Regions from separate parts of the Homo sapiens genome. Here regions 1, 3 and 4 are each linked to region 2. Evidence: promoter capture Hi-C in 16 types of primary human blood cells and fetal thymus (Javierre and others, 2016). All regions are on one chromosome and are shown on one strand. The core of a region is centred on a gene start or on the middle of the fragment in contact, and the rest is flanking DNA. Distances in the headings are between cores, read along the strand shown. Region 1 overlaps NFKB1 (nuclear factor kappa B subunit 1). Region 2 holds the start of CENPE (centromere protein E). Region 3 has its middle 59 kb from the start of TACR3. Region 4 overlaps NFKB1-AS1 (NFKB1 antisense RNA 1).

Region 1 (2,911 bases), core at 106-2,605, 580 kb after region 2:
TGTTGCATGGGTGCCATTGTGGAAATGGATGTGGCCTAGGAAGACACAGCTCCCGGCAGCATTCCATGAGAAAGCTGACAGCTAGAGTGCACCACCAGCAGAATAGTCCTTTGTCAAAGGGGAATCCTGGTTGTGCATCACAATGTCGACAATAGTACCTCGCTCAAAAACTGATTTTTTTTCCTCTTCCATATTCCCAACTTTTTTTTTTATTATACTTTAAGTTTTAGGGTACATGTGCACATTGTGCAGGTTAGTTACATACGTATACATGTGCTATGCTGGTGCGCTGCACCCACCAACTCGTCATCTAGCATTAGGTATATCTCCCGATGCTATCCCTCCCCCCTCCCCCCCCACCCCACAACAGTCCCCAGAGTGTGATATTCCCCTTCCTGTGTCCATGTGAGCTCATTGTTCAATTCCCACCTATGAGTGAGAATATGCGGTGTTTGGTTTTTTGTTCTTGCGATAGTTTACTGAGAATGATTTCCAATTTCATCCATGTCCCTACAAAGGACATGAACTCATCATTTTTTATGGCTGCATAGCATTCCATGGTGTATATGTGCCACATTTTCTTAATCCAGTCTATCATTGTTGGACATTTGGGTTGGTTCCAAGTCTTTGCTATTGTGAATAATGCCGCAATAAACATACGTGTGCATGTGTCTTTATAGCAGCATGATTTATAGTCCTTTGGGTATATACCCAGTAATGGGATGGCTGGGTCAAATGGTATTTCCAGTTCTAGATCCCTGAGGAATCGCCACACTGACTTCCACAATGGTTGAACTAGTTTACAGTCCCACCAACAGTGTAAAAGTGTTCCTGTTTCTCCACATCCTCTCCAGCACCTGTTGTTCAGCAAAGCTTCATGCTGGAAGGCTCCTAGTCCAGGGCCCTCTGGTATATGGAAATCTTAATACTTTATCACAGAGGTGTGGAGAAGACATTGAAGAGGTGTAGCATTGCATGAGATGGAGGAAAGTGAGGTGGCACAATCTAAATAAGATGAGCTGGGTAAGGATTAGGCAAATCCAAAGCTTTCATCTTAGGTTAAAACACTTTCCTTTTGATAATTATTTGTTCATTTCTAGATTAAAAAATTGACTCTAATAGGCAATGTGAATGTGATAACCAGGCTATACGGAATGATCCCATGATTATAAGGAAGCATCTTAGAAAAGTATTTGCACAGATCAAACAAGGTGAGGTCATCAATTTGCTTTTCCTTTTATTATAAAAGTAAAATAAAAAATAGCATTTATAAATCCAACATTTTTTCCTTTAAAGTATTTGATCTAAAAAACATATTTACAATAGCAAAATGCAGAAAAGGGGGAAAATACCATTTTCAGCAATGATTGTAACCATGTTTAAATATTGACAAGTATTTTTTTTTTTTTTTTTTTTGCAAATCAGAGAAATAACCACATTAGAAAAAGCAATATGCCTTTTTTTTTAAAATGGCACATCAAGTGACTCTCATTTTAAAATATCTCTTTTCTTAACCCTTAATTTGAATGCAAAATGATGCTGTGGTCAGAAGGAATGCCAGGTGGCGACCGTGATACCTTTAATGACAATAGGAACGTAGCAGAGGGACAACAGCAATGACAACAGAAAGCAGCTGTGATCCAGCAGCAGCTGGCAAAGCTTAGTAAGCAACCTCATCCCCAGATGCATCCGCTCAGCCAGTGTTGTGATTGCTAGATACTATCTGTAAGTGAACCAAACTAAAATTCATTTATGAACCAAGAAAGGAAGCCAAGTTGAAAAGGTCTCGAGTTAAATCGAGAATGATTCAGGCGGGCCGGCTCTCTGAGCACCTTTGGATGCACTTCAGCTTCTGTCTTGTGGACAACGCAGTGGAATTTTAGGGCTTTGGTTTACACGGTGTGGGAAATTGTCAGCAGGCTAAATTTTGCCTTCTAGAGGTCCTTCCTGCCCATAATCATGGGGCATTTTGTTGAGAGTTAGCAGTGAGGCACCACTGGTCAGAGACTCGGTAAAGCTGAGTTTGCGGAAGGATGTCTCCACGCCGCTGTCGCAGACACTGTCACTGTCTCGGAGCTCGTCTGAGGGGAGAAAGCACAAATTCACTGGGGGAATGGCCGGGCTCTAAAAAGCTCATGGACTATTCTGTGGACAACTCTTGCCCACTGGCTTCTGCCAGCCACACATCCCACCTATGCCACCCTCACTGTCATGACTGCTCACCGTGGTGGGAAGGGCAGAAGATACTTGGGACATACTGTGAGGATGTTATTAGCCAAATGTCAGAATTAGCCAAATGCTTTCACATCTTCCTGCAATCTAGTCTTGTGTTTATGAGAATCCTTTCTGAATTCTCTTGACTCACAGTGGACCTTTTTTTCCCTTAGAAATCAAGTGTAGTTTTCCAACCACTGTATTATCTATTTCATAGCTGGGGAAACTGCTGAACCTCAGCAAAATAAATTGGTGACAGAAGCAAGAACTAAAAATGAGATCTCTCTCTGGGCCTCATATGCTATTACAGCATACATTGCCTTGAAAACATTTTTGGTAGCAATAAAAGTAAAATGATTTTGGTGAAAATGAGTCTATACTGGAAAATCAGGTTGAATTCCCTTTGTTTATAAGTGTCCTTAGGGATATGACCAAGACAAATTATTTCCTATACAGTGAGGAAGGAAACAGAAGTCTAACATACACTAATCAAAATGCTATCTTCTTATGTACCAAATTCCAATATTAGAATATTAAGACTTTAATGCCAGTGGCACGACTATCATTTTGGTATTGACTGATTTGTTTAATCAACCAATCTTTATTTGGTGTCTATTATGGGTTACAAACTATGCGATATCCTAAAAATAACTACAAATTAAGGGCTTAATGCTTAGGTATTTACTTTTTAAAAAAA
Region 2 (2,762 bases), core at 35-2,534:
GTGAGACCCCACTCCCTACCCTAATCCCCCCACCACCCCGTCTCTACAAAAAAATTTAAAAATTATCTGGGCTTGTGATGTGCCTGTAATCCAAGCTACTCAGGAGGTTAAGGTGGGAACCCCACTTGGGCTGAGGCCAGGAGTTGAGCCTGCAGTGAGCTGTGTTCAGCCTACTGCACTCTAGCCTAGGTGACAAAGCAAGAACTCATGTTTATTTAAAAAAAAAAAAAAAAAAAAAAGAGAGAGAGAGAAGAAAGGGAAAATAAGCATTATTTTTGGGAAAAAATCACTGTATTTAGAATAGCTTTCCCTCTTAGTTAATAAAAGTAACAAACCAGGCCAGGAGCGGTGGCTCACGCCTTTAATCCCAGCACTTTTGGAGACCGAGGCAAGTGGATCACCTGAGGTCAGGACTTTGAGACCAGCCTTGCCAACATGGCGAAGCCCCGTCTCTACTAAAAATACAAAAATTACCTGGGCGTGGTGGCGGGCACCTTGTAATCCCAGCTACTGGGGAGGCTGAGGCAGGAGAATCACTTGAATGCAGGAGGTGGAGGCTGCAATGAGCAGAGATAAGCACCACTGCACTCCAGCCTGGGGTGACAGAGCGAGACTCCGTTTCCAAAAAAAAGAAGAAAAAAAAAGTATCAACCCATTACTCAATGAGTTTTTCAGTCCTCGGTATTTATTTTCCCTAATTCAACCTCTGAGGAAGCCACAGCTAATGGAAACGAGTTACAGAGAGAGAGAAACAGGAGAAAAGCCTAAACTCAGATTTTCTAAGGCGCACAACAGGCTTGTCACGTTTCTGGACTGGACAGCGAATTTCAACTCTTGCTGTTGAAAGTTTATTTTAAACTGTTGGTGCAGTTTCTTTAAAAGACGGCAATTCTGTTTGGGTAGTGAAAAATACATGTATCTCTACCTAGTTTCGTCTACAGGTTCCAAACTTTTTAAGGATGGGGTGGAGGATGACGTTCGCTAGCTTTTGGCAGATAATAGTATTCTGGTATTCCAGGACCACCACTCTCTGCCCACTCCTGGGAGCCCCTCCCTTCGGCCCTCTCCTCCGACTCTCTGCTGGGCCCTTTAAATCCCCTCTCCTGTTTAGCAGTGGTCACGCCGCCCGCCTTGCGTCCCCCGCGCTGCTCCGCACGTGGAATGGCCCATGACGTCACGAGGCCACGGCTCAATCAGATGCGGCGTTTGGGAAATTTTAAATTTAAAGGCGGGGCGGCCTGTGAGCCCTGAAGTGCCGGCCGCGGAGGGTCCTGGCCATTTTCCTGGGACCAGTTCAGCCTGATAGGATGGCGGAGGAAGGAGCCGTGGCCGTCTGCGTGCGAGTGCGGCCGCTGAACAGCAGGTAGGGGGGCCACACCACGGCCCGGTGCCCGCTGGGCCTGCGGCGCCGCCCTGAGCCGGAGGGGCGAGGCCTACGATGTTTCCAGGAGCCGCTGCTTCCCGGCTCTGCTGTCTAGTGACTCGGCTGCTGGCCATCGTTTCAGGGTCTGTAAAGTGACAGGGGAGGATCGGAGATCTAGAAGATACTTTCCAGCTGCGAGATTCACTTAAATTTAACTCAGTCTCGCTGACATACAGACCTTCCCTTCTGTGCTGCTCTGCCTTGCGGCATCTGCTCCTCCCTGCCCCATTCCCCGCCTAGAGAAGTCGTATGGGACCGTGCCTTCCTGGCCCTCATCACAGTTAGTCATTTTACACCTAACTGCTGTCTCCAGACCCTCTGAAGACAAGGGCTAGTCTGTCTTGTCACATTACATTCAATCGTCACTCAAGATCATTCTACAAATATTTATCAATTTTTTTTTAGTGACTTTGTACAACACAGACACTCCCGTCATTGCCCAGTGGCTCTTCCATTCTAATGGGACGAGACAGAAAGTAAAGTTGAAAATGTAGGATGTTAAGTGGTGATATGTAGGTAATAAGTGCTAGGGAGAAAAAGCAGGAAGAGGAATAAATGAAATCGGTTTGCTTCACTAGCTTCTGGCCCTCGACCCGAAATGCTAACACTTTGTGTGTGTGAGAAATTTTTATTGAACACGGGGTTTAATAAATGCAAATACCAAGATCAGGAATTTCCTATTTTTGAGGAGCTCATTATCTAATGCCTTAAACGGCTACATAAAGAAACCATTAGGATACCTTTTGACAAGTGTTATGATGGGCAGGTAGAGAATGTTTGCTAGAGGAGTTATTAGCCCATCAGAGACGAAAGCTTCCCGTGGGGTGAACTGGTGTCAGAAAAGTCTTGACGCTTTTCATGAGTGAAATAATCCCTATGTTACTTAATGGAAAGGGAAGTCAGAGTATTCCAGGCACAGAGAGGTTACATCTGTCATTTGGGGAAGACCTTCAGGTAGAGCTTAGGATGTATCTAGGAATTCAGAGGAAAATGGAAGAGAGAAATGACATGATCTAGGACTCGTGCCCTGCTGAGGATTTCATAAGTTTCCAAAAGGTTTTAAGAATTTTAAGCAAGACAGACATAATCAGAGTTGCATTTTGAATCCATCCCTTTGTTTACCAGTACTGGGGGAGAGGGTGAGAATGAAAGCCTTCACAAGAAAACACTTTTGAGGCGGCAGAAGGTCACTGAAGCTCCATTTAAGAGTTGAATCCTCAAAGATGGACTTTCTGTCATTCTCTTATGTTACTATCTTTCAAAATATTCTTTAGCAGGTGAAATCTTTTCAATTATTCCTCCTATGACATGACTTTTATGACTGGTTAAAATGCGGTGT
Region 3 (2,986 bases), core at 306-2,805, 580 kb before region 2:
CTGTATATTATTCATACATTTATTATAGTCTAAATACAAACAATAATGTATTTACACTATAGTATAAACATAATTTTTATATGTACTAGGAAAACAAACGTTCATGTGAATTACTTTATCACAATATTTACCTTATCGTGGTGGTCTGGAACTGAACCTACAATGTTTCTGAGGTATGCCTCTATATATTTTTTGTACTGAAACTGAAGTCTCTGATATATTTAGTCTACACAATAAACATACAGAACAGATGACTCAGGTACCTTTGAGATGCTTTTATATATTGATGATTTCTACACTATTAACATTCATGTAGCAAAATTTATCAGGCAGAATTGTTTTATAAATTGGAAGATACGTATTCTCCAGCTCTGAAGCAGTTTTTGCTCAATATTTGTTAAATCACCTAAGTAGGAAATCTAAATGAAATACTAAAATAAGACTAATCCTGTTTCTATTTTGTCTGAGATTCCAAGGTGATAATGGATATCAGATATCAAAGCAAGGAGCTAGACTAAAAAGCATATTTTCAAAGGATGTATCCAAAAACCAGCATCATAGGAGTTATTTACTCTTTCAGGAACTTCTATTGAAAGGGTATAAGGAGATACGAAGAGTGAAGGAGTTTCTGTGGCAGAAGCAATGCTATGTATTCACTGCATAATGTCTTTCCCCAGGAATATGAATAAGGCATAACCTCCCAAATTATGTCAGGGGGTGTAAGACTGAGTATTGGCTAACAAAATTAATTTAATGGAGGTGGAGGGTATTTAAGCTACTTGCAGACACTGGCCTTACAAACAAACAGTGTGATCCTGTCTTCTCTTCTACCATAATTTTGAAGACTGCATGATTCTGCTATGATGGAAAAGGCCTGGATTTGGGGTTATCAGAGTAGAGCCAAAAAGAACTATCTGCTTTGCATCAGATGTGGTAGAAAAAAATTGGATACATTGTATTAAGCCACAGAGAATATGACACATTTATCACTGAGCCTATCACTGTCTGAATGAAAAAATTCCTTTGGAGCATTGCTGCCATATATGAATGCCAAGCCTTTTGTCAAAGGGCCTGGGTGGATGATATTACTTGATCTACTACAAGTTAGATGAGGAAGCCTCAAAAGAACCAACCAGCACTTGATTTGAGGAGGTGATTAGTCTGGTATACTAAATAATCTAAACATGCAAGACCGTGGCTGCGATGGCAAGGGAGAGTTTGCCTCTGGCTGGTATTGACCTTCACTCACAACATTTCTTGGGTCAACAAATGAGGGTGTCATGTCCGTGGCAGCTGGGTGTAGGGCAACACCCAAAAAGTAACTGCACTCCAATCTGATGACAAAGGCTGAGTAACTTGTTTCCCGTAGACCCATTGTGAAGCACTTGGTCAAGAAGTAGCTAAAAGCTACTTTAATTTTTGCATAAGGAGAGTGTTTATGGGGCTGAGGTATTCTATTAGAATATGCTGTAAAGCAGACAATGGGAAAATCAGGGAAAGTTGCTGATAGAAGATATGCATTTTCTGTATCACTGGGAATCACAGTGGAAGAGTTCCACCTAAGGGAGCCTCCACAGAGCCAACACAAGCCCCCTAAAGTGAAAGGGTCAGCAGTTGTCCCTCTTCACCCAGAGGGCCCTAAACACCTAGTGTAACTGCCTCTACTATGCAAATTTTGTCTCCTTTCATGACTCTATCTCCTTGGGCCCTATTAGCAAGCTAATAAGGGAAGCTGAATGGAAAGAGATGGAGGGATGACAGGACTCTTTTCTGCTGCAAATAACCTACATCTTTGAGCCTTTAATGAAAACATTGTAGATAAATCTATTGGCATTTCTTTTCTGGGCCTCACCTTTTTGTTTTTTAATTTATTTAAGTGTAATACCTAGACAGAATATACAGTAAATCTGTAAATACCTAGACAGAATATACAGGCGATGGCTCACGCCTGTAATCCCAGCACTTTGGGAAGCCGAGGCGGGTGGATCACGAGGTCAGGAGTTCAAGACCGGCCTGGCCAAGATGGTGAAACTCCATCTCTACTAATACAAAAATTAGCTGGGCATGGCGGCATGTGCCTGTAATCCCAGCTATGCACGAGGCTGAGGCAAGGAATTGCTTGAACCTGGGAGGCGGAGGTTGCAGTGAGCCGAGATCGCGCCACTGCACTCCAGCCTGGGTGACAGAGCGAGACTTTGTCTCAAAAACAAAAAAAAACAAAAAAAAACCCAAAAAACAAACTGTATGTGATTTTCTGGAAAAGGCAAAACCATTGCTATAATTAAAAATTAATGGTTTCCAGGCATCAGAGGGGAGAGATAGATAAGTATTTGGAACACAGATTTTTAGGGCATTGAACATACTCTATATGATACCATAATTGTGGATACATGTCATTATACATTTGTTCAAACCCATAGAATGCATACACCCAGAATGACCCTTAATGTAAACTATGGACTTTAGGTGATAATAATGTTTCAATGTAGGTTTAATCAAATTGTAACAAATGTACGACTCTGGTAAGGATGTTGATAATGATGGAGTCTATGCATGTGTGAGGGCAGAGGGTATGTGAAAAATTTCTGTGCCTCCCTCTCAATTTCCTGGTGAAACTAAAACTGACCTAAATAAATAAATACTTTTTAAAAAATACTGTAAATCAAAGTAATTCCCTACAGTAAAAACTGAGATACGCTGAGACACATTGGTGTCTATGACTCACCTGACAGACTCTAAGCATAGCCTCCTATGCCTTGTAATTTTCTGTGCCTAGAATTTGATGACATTTTATATCCCTTGATCCAGGAGTAGGCACCCGTTTATGTGAAACTTTAAGTGACTGCCAGAATAACAAAGGCCCAACTTCAAGTATATTAAATAAATGTAAACCCAAGTTAGAATATGTTTTCCAAAGTTAAGAATAGAGAACGATTGACCCTAAAGTACTTACAATTTTGATAGTTATTTACAGGCAAACTATACA
Region 4 (2,805 bases), core at 297-2,796, 760 kb after region 2:
ACAAGGGATCTTCAGAGAACAACTTCACCTTGTGCTTTGAGAGAGACAGGATTGAGCGAAAGGAGGTAGGGGGAAGGTCAAATAAACCTTAAGGCTGCTTCTTCAGTTCAGCATATCGAAGTGCCATGTTTTGGTTTCTGAACCCCAACAGAGGAAGCAATTCCATCCTTCTTCCTATTCCTGTGGCATGTTCCTCCTCATAGGAGGAGGACTGGTTTGTGTTACTAGTGACATCAAGCAATACACTGAGGTTTGCTAAGCAGTGGTGAGGTCATGGCTTCAGATTGTGGGTGGCACAGTCCCATGTCTCTCCTGTCTTTTGTTAATTCGTGGACCTGTGTTGTCACTTGTCCTTTGTCTCCTGGTACTAACTAGACCAGACCAAAGATGGTCTCTGGCAAGCTCAGTTTAGTTTCTAAGCCCAATAATAGGTTACTAGATCAATTGGAACCTGCCCTGTGGGCCCAGAGAAAATTATTTCATAAGAAGAATTCGTTTCAGGCGAGGTCTTCATTTCAGGAGAGACCTCAGCCCAAAGTTGTGTGCCCCAACAGGAGTTAACAAAGCTCTTAGTTTGGAGATTATTTGATTTTGCCTGACCCGTATTGCTTCATCTGTACTTTGCTCTGTAAACAGAACAAAGGCACTCATCCTTTCTCAGGTGTTAGAATACTACAAAGGGAAGAAGGCAGTGGTGTGCTAGCAAATTGGCTGTCTGGGTGGAAAAAGACTGGATTTGTAACAGTTGCTGATTTTTCTAATGTAGGTACTTTCACCGTGGTCTATTTCCAACTCCCAATGGTTTGACAACTGCTTATGGATGAAGTTCCTCAGTTCTGACCATCAGCTCACTGAATGTGCTCCAGTAAAGTTGCAAAGCGAGTCATTAAGCTTCGTCCACCACAGTGAGAACAACTTTTCCTCAGTCCATTTCCCATCAACCCCTGGGGAAATTTCTGAGTTGCCCACCTTGTCTGTTAGGCTTCTTTCCCTAGTTTTATCAGGTATGACCAGGGGACCATGACTACATTGTAGACGCATGGTTGTTGGGAGTCTGCAATAATAGATCGGGGCAAATTTAGGGGTTAATGTGTGCTGGAATAACATCCCAGTCATAGGTTGGGTCTCTCCAAAGCAGAGCCTGAGACAAAGACTTATGTACCGGAAGTTTACTTAGAAATATGATTCTGGAAAGCAGAAGTGCAGAACCAAGAGGAAAGGAAAGACAAAATAAAGATGCATTATTAACTTCTACAAATCTGACCCTTCTGTCAATGTGAGTTACTAAAAGAGTAATCTCCTCAAATAATACATAGTAAGAAATGAGCTGGGAGTTGCCAGTCTTCACTGGAGCTTGAGAACAAATCCAATGCAGATGAAGGTAGACCTAAGATAGGTGCACAAACCAATCCCGGTGACGTCACTTGAATCTCTGGATTGAGATACGCTGTATGTACCATTCCCCCTTCTCCAATTTTGTCATGTGAACCAGTTCATTTCTTTGTTGTTTAAGCCAGTTTGAATCATGTTTTCTGTCATTTGCAACCAAAGAGTTCCAACTGCTATACTTCCACAATAAAAAGCTCACATTTTATTCTGTTTGTCAGTATCTTCTCCAATAGATTGCCACCTCCTTGAGTTAAGGGCCTATGCATCTTATTTAACTTGTATCCCCAGCATCTAACAGAGCACCTGGCATGTAGTAGATGCTCAATGCATGTTGGATTGAAGGAATATGTTACATTAATTTGACATCTGTAATACTGATCATTTCTAGTCTCATCAATGCTTTCTTAAAGAATGTAAGTGGGTTAAACTTTTCTTGTGCAGGGAAGAAAAGAAGATACAAATTTGCAAGAAAATGTGATAAAATGCATTTACTCAGGGGAAAAAAAAGAGACTGGTTATGTGAAAGAGTTAACATTGCAAACATAATGTATCTCCTTAGACCATTTTTTCCTTGTTGACTGTAATACAACTAAAATGTTAATAAAGGTATAGTTATAATTCACTCATTTACTGTACCTAATATATAATGAAATTTTTTCTCTGATTTTTTTTATTCCTAAGGGAAGAATCTCTATATAAAATGAAGATCTAGCAAGGAGAAAATGTCATGATGTTGATAATCTTATTTAGCCTAAAAGAGTTACCATGAATTATGAGCTTATTGATTAGAAACTCACAAAATAAAAGCTTATTTATAACCTACTTCATACTTTTATATTAAGACTACACTACTTCTTCCCCTTAATTGAAATCCTTTCAGAGTAAGAACTGGAAAGTTCAGAAAGTCGATAATTTAATCTAACTATCCATCATTCTATCTGCATTTTTTGCACATAGTTTGCTGAATGGAGCACTTAAAGCAAACTTAGCATAACATCTTTAAACTATACATAATCTTCCAAATTGAGTTGTGAAGCCATTATCTGGGATTCCTACCATATAACTTTACTATTGGTAAGAAACTCATGGAAGTTGCAAGTGCTATTCAAATATATTTCTCTAGAACCCAACATTTAGAAAAACAGTACGCAGATTTAAAAAGAATAATATTATCATTAATAATACAAATGTTAAAATCTTAATATTTGGGGGTCTACAGTAAGTTTTAAGCAAGCTACAAACTCTATTTCCCTTCAGAACCCCAAATCCTGTTATTCTCACTAAGCCAAAAACATTAGCAGCTAATAGATTTCAACCCCTAAGTAACCCCCTGCCTTAGACTAATGGCAAGATTTCCAAAAAAATTTTTTTGTAGTCAAAATTCCAGATTCTGAATCAATAGAAAAGAAAAAAAAT

Evidence for each region. The method cuts DNA at HindIII sites, captures the fragments that hold promoters and counts their contacts. A CHiCAGO score of 5 or more calls a contact.
Region 1: a fragment that was not itself captured here is called in contact with the fragment with the promoter of CENPE in region 2 in 1 of 17 cell types (fetal thymus); the score reaches 7.1 in fetal thymus.
Region 3: a contact is called between a fragment that was not itself captured here and the fragment with the promoter of CENPE in region 2, in 1 of 17 cell types (endothelial precursors). The highest score is 7.3, in endothelial precursors.
Region 4: a contact is called between a fragment that was not itself captured here and the fragment with the promoter of CENPE in region 2, in 1 of 17 cell types (fetal thymus). The highest score is 8.8, in fetal thymus.

Annotation. Positions count from the first base shown.
Region 1 is chr4:102,615,604-102,618,514 of GRCh38, reverse strand. NFKB1 (nuclear factor kappa B subunit 1) reads right to left here. Exons shown (of 24, transcript NM_003998.4): 24 at 1,213-2,081. The coding sequence ends at 1,921. The region is part of intron 1 of LOC105377347 (a long non-coding RNA gene); the gene reads left to right. Among named protein-coding and RNA genes, the nearest start is that of NFKB1-AS1, 110 kb to the right of the region's middle. The HindIII fragment of the contact is 613 bases long and covers 1,049-1,661 here.
Region 2 is chr4:103,196,865-103,199,626 of GRCh38, reverse strand. CENPE (centromere protein E) reads left to right here and starts at 1,284. Exons shown (of 49, transcript NM_001813.3): 1 at 1,284-1,363. The coding sequence starts at 1,308. RefSeq lists an enhancer at 868-1,422. The HindIII fragment of the contact is 3,749 bases long and covers 1-2,238 here.
Region 3 is chr4:103,777,130-103,780,115 of GRCh38, reverse strand. No RefSeq gene overlaps it. Among named protein-coding and RNA genes, the nearest start is that of TACR3, 59 kb to the right of the region's middle. The HindIII fragment of the contact is 6,341 bases long and covers 1-2,986 here.
Region 4 is chr4:102,440,227-102,443,031 of GRCh38, reverse strand. The region is part of intron 2 of NFKB1-AS1 (NFKB1 antisense RNA 1); the gene reads left to right. Among named protein-coding and RNA genes, the nearest start is that of NFKB1, 60 kb to the left of the region's middle. The HindIII fragment of the contact is 1,305 bases long and covers 894-2,198 here.